2 separate regions of the Homo sapiens genome follow, and region 1 is linked to region 2. The links are contacts of gene promoters, found by promoter capture Hi-C in human tissues and cell types (Jung and others, 2019). All regions are on one chromosome and are shown on one strand. The core of a region is centred on a gene start or on the middle of the fragment in contact, and the rest is flanking DNA. Distances in the headings are between cores, read along the strand shown.

What was found. The method cuts DNA at HindIII sites, captures the fragments that hold promoters and counts their contacts. A contact is called where the count stands out against the background at its distance.
Region 1: a contact is called between a fragment that was not itself captured here and the fragment with the promoter of PSG11 in region 2, in 2 of the 25 tissues and cell types used here (dorsolateral prefrontal cortex and mesenchymal stem cells).

What each region holds. Positions count from the first base shown.
Region 1 is chr19:42,897,128-42,903,295 of GRCh38, forward strand. PSG6 (pregnancy specific beta-1-glycoprotein 6) reads right to left here. Exons shown (of 6, transcript NM_001031850.4): 6 at 4,959-5,319. The coding sequence ends at 5,285. Among named protein-coding and RNA genes, the nearest start is that of PSG6, 18 kb to the right of the region's middle. The HindIII fragment of the contact is 3,294 bases long and covers 2,361-5,654 here.
Region 2 is chr19:43,021,870-43,028,377 of GRCh38, forward strand. PSG11 (pregnancy specific beta-1-glycoprotein 11) reads right to left here and starts at 4,600. Exons shown (of 6, transcript NM_002785.3): 1 at 4,440-4,600; 2 at 2,822-3,187. The coding sequence starts at 4,503. The HindIII fragment of the contact is 7,620 bases long and covers 3,380-6,508 here.

The sequences.
Region 1 (6,168 bases), core at 2,758-5,257, 130 kb before region 2:
GGATCACTTGAAACCAGGAGTTTAAGACCAGCCTGAGCAACAAAGGGAGACCATGTCTCTACCAAACATAAAATAAATCAAATTAGCCAGGTGCAGTGATGCATGCCTACAGTCTCAGATACTTGGGAGGCTAAGGCGGGAGGACCACTTCAGCCCAGGAGTTCAAGGCTGTAGTGAGTACACTCCAGTCTTGGTGACAGAGCAAGGTTGTGTCTCTAAAAGAAAAAAAAAAAGGAAAGGAAAAGAATGGGGTAAGCAGGAAAGCCAAAGATCTCGGGCATCTCCAGATGATTCCCTGAACAAATTGTTTTTTCTTGGCTTCAAAACCTTTCAAGATGTATATTTCTTTGTAAAAGAAAGACATGCCAATTGTAACTTTAAGTGAGCAGTCAAAATCTAGCTCCTAAAACTGAAGTATTTTAACTCTCATTCTGATAATATTTATTTTCTGAGGCAAAGAAGAAAGACAAGATTAGATGAATTGTTTTTCTGCCCACACCATCTCTTCCGACATGCCTTATCCCTTTAATCAAATGTATAAATACTAAGCCTCCTGAAACCTCTTCAGAGAAAACACAAGCCACAGAGGTTTTTTTGCAACTCATGTATTCCCAGGGTGTACTTTCAAGTTCTGGCTCAATAAATCTCAATTTATCAAGACCCTTGCCTCAGTCAGTCATTCTGGATAACCACCATGAGTCCTGCAAAGCCCTTCAGTAATCTGTTGCCTGCCTAGGTGATGTGTAAGGTGAGTCAGGTCTTCATGAGTCAAACACTCGTCTTCCTTTCTGTCTTTCCCAACCCTACCACTCAGTGCTGTGTGCTCTGATCTGACCCCAGCTCCCAGGTTGTTTGTATTGGTCTAAGAAAGCAAGACCAGGAGGGGCAGGTTGAGAAGGAAGTAAGAAGTGAACATGGAAAGTGGCAGGTGGGGCTGTCATTGCTCAAAGCCACACACCCTGGGTGCATTTTATGAATTTTTCTGGATTCATAATCTTTTCCCTGTGTGTCTATCTAGAAACTCACCCCCCTCCTACTTTCTTCTCATTACTCTTTCTGTTTCTAGTGCACTCGTTTATGGCCAGAGAATGGCCGTGTAAATAGTTGACAATAGAATAAAAAATGATGTTTTCTGAGACTTGGAAGCTGGCCTTTCTTTTTTCCAAAAGAGATTGGGGTTTCTAAAAGCTAGCTTTTATGCAGGGCTGTGCAGTTGTGAGTGTAGTTTTAGGGAACAGATGCATAAGTGAAGGGTGAGACAGAAAACAAAATGCTGGCTGTTTGTCAAATCCTGAAAGTAAATGGGACAAAAATCATTTTTGAAGGAGGATGTCATTCAGGAGACCTTGTACATCTTAGCGTGTCCTCTTACCAGAAGAATTGGAGGTTGAGGTTGAATTATGGATTTAAGTGACAGTGGGTATATAATTCTCTGCCTCAGTTTTTTTTTTTAATCTGTAAAAATGGGGATTGTGGCTCTTGGGATTTTTTGGTGAGCACTATAGTTACCTGAAAAGCTCTTAGGATAGTGCCTGGTGCATAGTGAGTGCTGCATCAGTGTGAGCTATTATAATTATGGGAATATACAAAGGTATCACCCTGGCCATCCAGAGTGGGGAGATATTTTCTGGTCAGGGTCCAGGCAGGCCAGCTGGAGATGAAGCTGATTAGTAGGGAAGCTTAACTTCCAGGAGTGGAAGAATTTAGGAGGAGTAAACAGAATGCACAACATTCTGCAAACATTCCTTTACCCAACAGTAGGAATACTCAGAGTGGGTGTGTCTTCCGTGACAATCATTATCTCCTGGGAATCTAAGAATGTGTTCTAGAGTCAAATGGCTTTGATGTAAGCCAAACCCAGAAATGGGCTTCAGGGCTGCCTTGCACATAGCATTCATTCATCTTGAAAAAGGAAAGCATTCATCTTGCTAAAGGAATCCCCTCTTCTGGCCCAGGCCATTATTTTTGTTTTTGTGCTATCCTAATTTTTAAGGTGTAAGCAGAAAGACTGAAGAATAAAATAATGAAGTACATGAATGAAATAACAGGGTAGAATTGAGACTGCTACATGTAAGTTAAGAGAAATTGTGTATAAATTTTTGTGAACAGAAAAAGGATTTCTTGTTGCAAACAGACCTCTCTATATAAATAATACCTCCTGCCTTGAGTGGATAGCAGACCGCATCACAAGAACATTCCAGCAGAGTCATGAGAGAATGGTTAGTGTGGCTTCTTTAATTGTCAGGTTAGACTGAGTAAGTTACTGAAGAGAAAGGAGTTGAAGGAGAAGATGGGTGAGGGCAAGAAAAATGGGAAGGTGAAAGGAAAGGACTGAAAGGAATGTTTACCAAGGGCTCATCAGGTACCAGGCTCTGTGACTAATGTCTTACACATGTTAATTTACTCTTCCACTGTCATTTTCTGATGCAGTAAGAGTCAGCCTTACACTGCAGATGAGGAAAGAGGCTGAGGGAAGTCAAATGAGTGGCCCAGGGTCATCCAGCCACTTCATAGCAGAGCTAGTGTGTTTCACTGTGGTTTGTGCAGACAGAAAAGTGAGACATGGAAGGAAGGCAAAACATTTTTGTTGTGGGTGATGTTTATGAAAGTGACCCGTATGAGGCAGAATAATGGCCTCTTAAAAATGTCCACATCCGGGCCGGGTGCAGGGGCTCACGCCTGTCATCCCACCACTTTGGGAGGCTGATACGGGTGGATCACGAGGTCAGGAGTTCAAGACCAGCCTGGCCAACGAGGTGAAACCCCGTTTCTACTAAAAATGCAAAAATTAGCTGGGCGTGGTGGCGGGCAACTTTAATGCCAGCTACTTGGGAGGCTGAGGCAGGAGAATCATATGAACCTGGGAGGCGGAGATTGCAGTGAGCCTAGATTGTCCCACTGCACTCCAGCCGGGGCAACATGAGTGAAACTGTCTCAAAAAAAAAAAAAATCCACATCCTAACTCTTGGAACACATGCATTTACTTTTCTTGGCAAAAACACTGTTCAAAGGTGATGAGGTTGAGTATCTTGAGATGGAAAGCTTATTCTGGCTTATCTGGATGGCTCCCAGTGTCATCATAGGGGTCCTTGTAAGTGAAAGAGCAAGGCAGGAGGGTCAGGGTGAGAATGATGCAGTCTGAGAGACTCCACTGGCCATTGCTTGCTGTGAACATGTGTGATAAGACAAAATTACAACTGATTTAGTTATAGATGTAATTGGTTTTTATTTGTGATTTATGATTTGGGGCAGCTCTCCCTCTACAGATGCCTCAGCATCCCAAGTAGCTGGGACTATATTGTGGGATCTGGCCAGCAACCTGCAATGCAACAGGGCTCTTTCTTTGTTCCCAGGCAGATCGGCAAGTTGAGAAATAAAGGACACACACAAGATAGGGAAAGCTGTGTCCAGGGGTGTCACCGCCTTCTGGTCCTGCGATGCTGCCAATGCACTGGATACACCAGCATTTATTATTAAGTTTAGTGAGAGTGGGGGTAGTTTAGTGAGGGATTTAGGGTCATTTATAGGCTCTCCATAAGGGTCACATTCCTTTCCCAGAGCTACAGACATCTGCTTTTCTGGGATAGGAATCTTGGTAATGTGAAACCTCCCTGACTGCCCATCCATTCATAGGCTCTCTGCAGGGGGAAGCACATCACGTGCTGTTGGCTCATTCTGGCAGTCCAACCTGGCATTTTTCTTTACACAATCCTTCATGCAATTTTGTACTTACAATAATCAGGAGCTTTAAAGGATGTCTTGTTATGTAAAAATGTGTTGGCTGGGTGCGGTGGCTCATGCCTGTAATCCCAGTACTTTGGGAGGCTGAGGCGTGTGGATCACCTGATGTCGGGAGTTCGAGACCAGCCTGACCAACATGGAGGAACCCTGTCTCTACTGAAAATACAAAATTAGCTGGGCATGATGGTGCATGCCTGTTATCCCAGCTACTTGGGAGGCTGAGGCAGGAGAATCACTTGAACCCAGGGGGCGGAGGTTGTATTGAGCCAAGATTGTCCCATTGCACTCCAGCATGGGCAACAAGAGTGAAACTCCATCTTAAAAAATAAATGAAGTGTGGTTGACATGATATATCTGACACTGTTAACTTACTCTCAGAAGCTACTTCTTGTGAAATCCTAAGTACAGCATTATTCTGGGAAGCAAAGGAGACAGGCATAAGCAAGGAGAAATTAAGAGAGGTAAGAGTCTCATCATGATTGATAGTCTTGTTCTGACATCTTGAGAAAAGCTGTCCACAGTGTAAAGTCATCAACTTGTTGTCGTGGTTTGCAGTTTGAGTGTCTCTAAGTTATGGTGTTGAACATTTGGTGAGCTTTTAGTGGCCCACACCTCAGACACGAGGGTTTTCCCATGAAATTTACATTGAGTTGTCCACCTCCAGCTTATATGGCTTCAGGAACAGAGCTGCTCTTGTTCTTAATGATTTCATTGGAGAAAATTGAATTGGAAGAACTAAAAGAATTCAGGGTCCAGTCCAGTCTACCAGTGGATTATAAATACTCAAAGATAATGAACAGTAGTGGTTCAATCTGGTAACAGGTGTACTACAGTTTTTCTTTTCAACTAGTTTTTCTCTCTATAGGAGTCTCTAATTTTACCAAAGATAATTCCAGTAGGATGAATTTGTTTGCAAAATAGGTTGAGTCTCACCGAACTTGCCCAGATTTTTTACCTAAGTGCGGCAAGAGTAGCCGTGGACCATAGAGGCTCTTTTTAAACGTCCCTTTGCTAGAAGTTTTTAATAAGAATCTCAGATGAAACTTCCAAAAACCTCTTGAGACTAGGAAACTAAACCAAGACCAACTTCAGACTTTGCCTGCTTTCCCTATGGGTTTATTCTAGGTATATTATCAAATATAACATCCCAGTAAAAGCTTTGGTAATATAACCAATGTTTTCAAATGTGTCCTGTTATAAAGAGAGCAGATTCTTACTGAACTTGTGCAAATAACTTTATTACCATAAACCTATGAATACTCATGAATAGTTTCCCAATTCTGGGGCACTCAGATAGAGAGCAAAAGCAAATGTTTCAATTTTTGTTTACAAAAGTATACTTTACCAATTGCTGAAGAAAAAAAGTTCATAAATCTGGAGAATAAAACATTCCAAGAATCAGCACATTTTCCAATAAAAAATTATGAAAACATTATCCTTTTGATTATTTAGTCCAATAACATTGAGTTTTTTTCTTCTTTGTCTTGAATTTCATGAAGGTATCAACCTGTTCTTTTTCTCAGTGTCTCTATTGTGGCAGCCATTAATGAGACTCTGTCTGGTTTCCATGGCAGGGACCTGATTGACAGAAGGCCCAGGTCAGCGCATTTCAAATTCACTACCTCCTTTACAGAGAAAGCTTCTTTCCCACAGGCTCCCAGCAAGGGTGTGAAAGCAAGTCTAGTTCTCCGAGGCTCTCTTTAACTCCAATGGGTGACTGGTTGGAGGATTCCTCATCAGCCTTGCAAAAACTCTTAGAACTGCATTGGTACCTAAAACTTCTTTCTCTTTCTTTTTCACAGGAATCAGCTCTGCATAGCGGTCTGTGGGTTCTCCCATACTACCTTCATGCCTGCCCCACATTCCCTCACAGGTGTCTTCCCTGATAAATTATCTTGTATGTCTAATCCCATCTTGGATGCATCTCAGTTGGTAAAAACTAACATACCAGACTTGATTCTTTGCACTTAGCTTTTTTTCTTTCTCTCCCACAATTAGTCAGTAACCATGTCCTAGTGTTTTATGTGTTACCGCTTTTTTCATATCTATGGAAAAAGGTAGGTACTGTTGAGGTGCACTTTCTATGTGCCAGGCCCTGTGCTCAATACTTTACCTGTATCTCATTTAATCCACACAATAACCCTGTCAGGTAGGCATTATTTCCATTTTGCTGATGAAAAGACAGAAGCTTAGCATGGTGTAAAAACTTTCCTGGTGTCATATGGCTAGTGACAGGTGGATCTGAGATTTGATTCTAGGACTATTTGACCTCAAGGCTAATGATGATGGTAGTAATATAGCAGCTGACATTGGTTCCTCTTTGTGTGGCATCTTGTTTCATTGACTGCATTAAACCTTTAAAAGAATGGTATGAAGAAAGTACTCTTATTGCAATTTTCAGGTGAGGAATCAGGGGTTCAGAGAAGT
Region 2 (6,508 bases), core at 3,350-5,849:
GCCTCTGACACCCTGGTGAGTCAGTGCAGAGATTACAACAGTGACAGCAAACTAGCATGGCTGACTCCATCTGGCATCTAGTCTCAGGCTGGCTGTCCTCACTCATTCCTGCACATAGACAAGGCTAACCTTGGGAGAAATTTAGTTTATGGTTTAACTTTGAAGCAAGAATGATAATAGTTCCTCCATAAAACTAACACCCTTACTTTGCCCAGGGACTGCCTTTGTCAAACTAGTGAAAGACCATGAGATTTAGATTATAAGAGGGAACTGAATTCTGCTAAAATGTATGCACAGTTTCTATAATCCCTGACTGCTGCAATGTCATTTGGCAAGGGTTTACAAAATTTGTAACTAATTGCTCCTATAGATAACATCACTATTGTAGAACGTGAGATTGGTCTTTTGAGATGCTTCTCATTCTTTTGCATTCTGGCAACCAGCTGACCTCATCCATACCTATGACTAATGGCTCAGCCCGTCATGTGGTCCCTACCTAGAGGCAGATTCAAGCACAAACAGATCATTTCCCTCCGCCCGCATGATTCCATCACCAACAATCAGCAGTACTCATTTTTTAGTCCTGTGCCCCTGAAACTATCCTTGAAAATCTCTAAGCCCTGATCCACTGGGGAGGCTGATTTCAGTAATAATAAACCTCTGTCCTCCTGTTTGGCAGACTTGGAGTCATTAAAATCTTTCTTTACTAAAAATCACCATTTCAATAAATTTGTGTGTTTGTGTGTGTGTGTGCAGGAGGCCAGAAGAACTTGTCTGACAATGATAAGAGTGGTTGGAGGGACTTCCTATCCCTGTCCCATGGTCTTGTCCACAGGTCAGCCTCACAAAGGGGAAGAGCCCTTGATGGGAATACAGTGGAAGCTCATTCTCTTAGTGACCTGGGGACATTGGCTCGAGATGAAGCCTGGCAGGAGTGGCAACTCCAGGTGATTTCTGCACCTTTCCTATTTCCTGGGAGGTGGGCCAGGCCACAGTGTTAGCGGGAAGGGAATAGAACAGCCAGCCTAGTTAGAGGGAGTGTCTGGGGAAGGCCTAGGGGTGGGGGAAGAAGCTGTGCAGGACAGGGCTTGCCAGTCAGAATGAAGTGGGAGGAAGATGAGGGACACAGAGAAGCAGAGAGAGGCAGAGACACCATGGCAGTGAGCAGTGAGGGAGACACTGACTTCAGAGCCCCCAGGAACCAGCTGCCCCCAGTTCCACAGTCCAGGACCAAGGAGCCCCGAGAACCCTCTGGTGGCCAAAGAGCTTCAGAGTTACATGAGGTGGGGTGGCTTTAGGGGCAAGAGGTAGTGGGGGGATGAAACATGGGTGTCAGCCTCTGAAGGACAAGGGACAGGTGTGGCTAGAACCTCCTAGGATTCTGCATTCAAGATCCAGTCTCTAAAGAGGTTTTGGATCATTCATTTCTTCATTCCATTCCTTCATTTGTTATGTGAGAGCTCCTGAGTGTGTGTCTCTCGCTGGGCCTGTGCTGGTGTAGGGAGTGAGTGGGGAAAGAAAACAAGGTCCTCTCCTTGATCCTCTCATGACAGTGACATGGACACTTTGGGAAACACAGAGTTTCAGGTTCAGTGATGGGGGTTAAGATCTGAGGGGGAGGCCTGGACATTTTTTTTGCACTGACTTTGATGGTTGAAGCAGGTGATTTAGTTCTGGAGTATAGACTAATCAGCTGACCATTTGCTCTCACTCCTCTGAGGTTTGGATGCCTAAGAAGAGAGGATTTGAGCCAATAAATGACTATGGGGTGCTTGGAACCCAGTAAGCCCTCACTTCTGGTGGAGGAGAGGATGGGCCTGTGGCTGCAGACAGACCTCATGTGACCCTGATCTCCCCTTTGCGTTTGTGTGACTCTGATTCAGTGACTGTGCCTTCCTGTGCCTCAGTTTTCTCTCAATCAGATAAGTTAAATGGCAAATGGACTGTGGCTTTTCATGCTATCTGTGAATAAATGTTAAATTATTCACAGTCACCTGACCTAATGCTTGGCACAGTGGAGGTGTTCACACAAGCAGCATTTATTATTAATTTGCTTCCATGAGAAAGCACCTTTACGTCAGATCCCTGTGGACAAGCTGCTACCAGGTACATCTTCTCTCTTCTGTTTCTGCTTCTGAGGACATTAGACTTTCTATGGACTGTCCTAAGCCTCCTAAGGCAGTTGGCTGATGACCTACAAAGCTTGTCTTTCTGTCCTCTCCACTCTGAGTGTCAGGTGAAGAAAGCTCTGTCCTTGCCCAGATGAGGCTCTGAGGGCTGAGCCCTGGCTGGTGAACAGCTCCAGGAGACACAGTCCTCAGACAGCTGGTAAATTCTTGGTCCCAGTAAGCCCTGCCCAAGAAGCCACAACCCAGCCCTGGAACAGGCTCCTCAGCTTTATCTGGAACAAGGATTTAGGTACAGAGTTCTGGGTTTGAGGCTTCTAGGGCTGAGCTTCTCTGAGAGTATCTCAGGGGCCCCTCAGGTCAAATTCTACTCAGTTCTCCAGGGTCTTTCTCAGGGTCAAATTTATGAAGAGGGCATGAGGTGCTTGGCTGAGACTGATCTCCTCCTGCTGAGTCCCCCCATCAGACTGTCCTTCCTCTGCAGCGAGTGTCTGCAGGGTCTGGATGCGGGAAAGGAATTCTGATCTGTTGAAATTTGTCTCCTCTGTGTGTGTCCTGCACTAAATGCCCAAACCCCAGCATGGGACATAATGCAGAGAGGGACACAGGCAATGTCCAGGCCTGACAATCCTGTGTGTGTGATGTAGAAGTGACCCCTGTCCCCCAACACCCAGGGATCATGTGGAATCACTTACGGTATAAGGTGAAGGTGAAATATCCAGTTACTCCTCTAGTCCCATCACCTCGCTTTATGATGTGTAAGGTGTAGGATCCTGCGTCCTCCCGGGTGACATTCTGGATCAGCAGGGATGCATTGGAATATACTGTTTCTCGTCCACTGTATGCCGGTCCATATATAATTATTTGACCGTCTACTACATATGATGTAATGTAATGGTAGAGGTCCCTGATTTGCCCTTTGTACCAGATGTAGCCAGTAAGATTCTGGGGCAAATTGTGGACAAGTAGAAGAACATCCTTCCCCTCGGACACTTTGGGTGGCTGGGCTTCAATCATGACTTGGGCAGTGGTAGGCAAGTTCCAGAAGTTTAAAAGTAATGCTAGGAGGTGGAGAGAGCATCAGTCAATATTGAGACCTATGTATTGGGGTGAAAAGATGGGGCCCTGAGTCCTGAGAAGGTCTCTTCAATCCTCAGCCTTGAAGACACACACACACACACACACACACATACAAACATACACACACAGAAAAGGGGCATGTGTGTTTGTGTATGTGTATGTGTGTGTGTTCTACTGTCCTACTAGGTCAAGGTCAGCAGCATGACCCCCATTCCTTCAACACTTCTGACCTTGGCATTTTTCTGTTTGGAATCCTCTTCCCCAGGGGTCCGCATGGCCCCCTCCACACTGCCCTCAGGTCCTGCTCACATCAGGGCATCCTTAGACTTCTTTCCTGACACCTCCTTCAGGGACTCTGGGTCTTCCCTTTCTGACCTTTCCCTGCTCTGCTCCCTCCAGGGTTCTTGTCAACACCTGACCTCACATTCTAGATCTCTTTGCATGTCTGACTTCCTCCCCATGGCAGCATGAGCTCCGTGAGGACAGGGACTTTTGTGATCTTGGTTGCACCCCAGTGCCTGGAACAGGCTGCAGACTCCTGTAGATGTGAGAGTTCTCAGGGCCGTCCACGCCCTGGGTGTTTTTTTTTTTTTCCCCAATTGTTGAGGTTTTTTATTGAGGACAGTGTTTCATGCCCTGTTTATTTTTATTTGTAGTGTCATCTGATATAGTTATTATTATCATTTTTCAAAATGTGGTGGCCCCTGATGATTAATCAGGAAAACAGAACACCTGTTTCCTACCTCTTACCAATTCCGGTTCAATGTGACTTTCCTGTTTTGACCCCTGTCCCTCTTGGGTGTATTTTCCCCTATCCAGGCATCAACAGGGCCTTCTTTCCTTTTTTTTTTTTTTTTTCTCTTTTTTTTTTTTTTTTTTTTTTTGAGATGGAGTCTCGTACTGTCACCCAGCCTGGCGTGCAGTGGCACTATCTCAGCTCACTGCAACTTCCGCCACCCTGGTTCACGTGATTCTCCTGCCTTGGCCTCCTGAGTAGCTAGGATTACAGGAGCACACCACCATACCTGGTTAATTTTTTGTACTTTTAGAAGAGACAGGGCTTCACTCTGTTGGCTGGACTGATCTTGAACTCCTGATCTCGTGATCCACCCACCTCAGCCTCCCTAAATGCTGGCTTTTTTATTTTTTAGAACCCCAGGAGCCTCTCCAGGAGACCCCATCCAGTCACTCTGCTTCCTCCTCCTGTCCTCTCCCAGGAAGTTCTCTCCTCACCTGTGAGCAGGAGCCCCTTCCATTTGATGTGCTCTGTGCAGGGAGGGGCTGAGAGGGGCCCCATGATCTCTGCTGCGTGCATGTTCTCCTCTGTGGAGATGAGCCTAGGATCCAGAAGCTTCCAGAGCACGGCTGTCAGCTGTGCTGTCCTTCCTCCTTCTGCGCTGAGACTCTTCCCGGTGGAAGGAGCACTTCTCAAGCTCATGGGCAGGGTCAGGCCGAGGACACCTCTCTGTCCCCTCCTCTCTCAGCCCTGCCTCCTTGTCCCTCCTTCTGTTTTTCCTTTTGTCTGTGTTTCAGGTCCCTGGGAATTGTGGAGGCCTCTGCCTTTTTCAGCAGTGATTCTTTCACCAAACCTCAATACACACTTTGTGCGGACACACACATACACACACACACAGAAGAGACACACACAGACCCACACAGTCAGACACATACCCTGCAGGTTGGGCAAGCAGAGTCCTGGGCCTCAGCCTCCTGCTGTCCCCATTGCTCTTGGTCGGGGTGCACATTCACACCCTTTGCCCTCTTTCATCCCCGTCTGGCTCTCCCCTTCAGTGCAGGAGGCTGGAGCTGCACCAGGTCCCTGTCAGAGTGACACCCCATTGTGCTGTGGGTGAGCTGTGTGTTGCCTGGTGAGAGGGACCCTTCTTTTCTCCAATCGTGTCTAGCTTGGCTGCAGCTTCCAAGGATGGACATTGAGGACCTGGGTTTCCCAGAGGAAACTGTCCTTCCTGGAGGTGTGCAGGGTGAATCTTTCATGCCTCCTGGGAGGAGAGGCCTGTGCTGGTTGCTCAGTGGGGGCTGTGAGTCCCATAGTCAAAGGGAAAGTTCTCGGTCACTCTGTGACTCCATGGGGTCTGGCAGCTGAGCTGGAGCTCTTGGTTTCTCATGTTCTTCCTGACAATCTTTGATGTCCTTTCTTCTCTGCCGAGCTGATTGTCCTGTGGTCACCACACCTTCCCCGTGGTGGTGCAGGAGGAAGTGGGGAGTTACCCAGGAATCCCGCGGGACATGACTTATTGAGACGCAGGAGGAGGAGCCTGGGACAGAGCAGGGGTTCAGAGCTGGAGAGATTCATCCCGACTTACTCCGTGGCCATGATGGGCTCAGCCCTCCATGTGCTGAGATACCCAGGGGTCTGTCCTGAGGGTTTTGACCTGGCCAAGCTGCTGTGTGTAGAGGAGGAACAGGCAGTGGCCAGAGATCCTGTCTGGAGGGACGTAGCTCACACCTGAGAGGGCGGGTGGGGGTGAGTTGTGTTCTGGGAGCAAAGAGCAATAACACCCCCCTTCTCCCCGCAAGCACACGGGAGACGTCTGTCTTCCCAAGAGACAGCTGGGGGTAGGTGGCCACATCCCGGATGGTGCCTGTGTGTGACCATCACACGCGCTCTGAGCCCTCCGGGGTTCAGTGAGCAGGCAGGTCACAGGGTGCCTGGCTGATTCCCGGTGAGGCTGTGGGCCCTCAGGCAGCCGCTATTCTGTGTCAGCGCTAAGCTTGGCCTGGGATGCCCCAGTGAACAGGACAGATGGAGCAGGGGTGGGCATTTAGGGAGCAGTGACAGAAAGAGTTGATGTTGATGGAGGGAGGTCACGAGGGGAAAGCGCCCAGTGTGGCATCGCGTGCACCAGCGCTGCCCTGGGAGATGCCTTTAGCTGGGCCCAGGGAAGGAGCAGGTGTGTGGGGCAGGAACTACCTGTAGGGGGAGTGGTGTTAGGTTGGTGGCCCCCAGGTCAGGGAGGAGCTGACAGAGACCCTGTGGGGAGCATGGAGGGCGCTGAGGACTTAGTCCGAAGTGACCCTGGTGAGGGTGGACCCTGCTGGGCTGTGGGTTCCGCTGAGGGCGGTTGGCATCCCTTGGGAAGACTCCAGGCCGGGAGGGACTCTGTCGCCTTCTGGTGGACAGGGAGGGAAGTGTGAACGGCAGCAATCCCAGGCCAGGCTGCATGTTTTATTCTACGTGGATCTGCACACTTCACACAAGGTCACACATATGTTATGTTATAGCTCCTTCACCTTCCAGCCCCGTGAGTCCCAGTCTGTGTGGCTCTACGTTCACTGTTCTC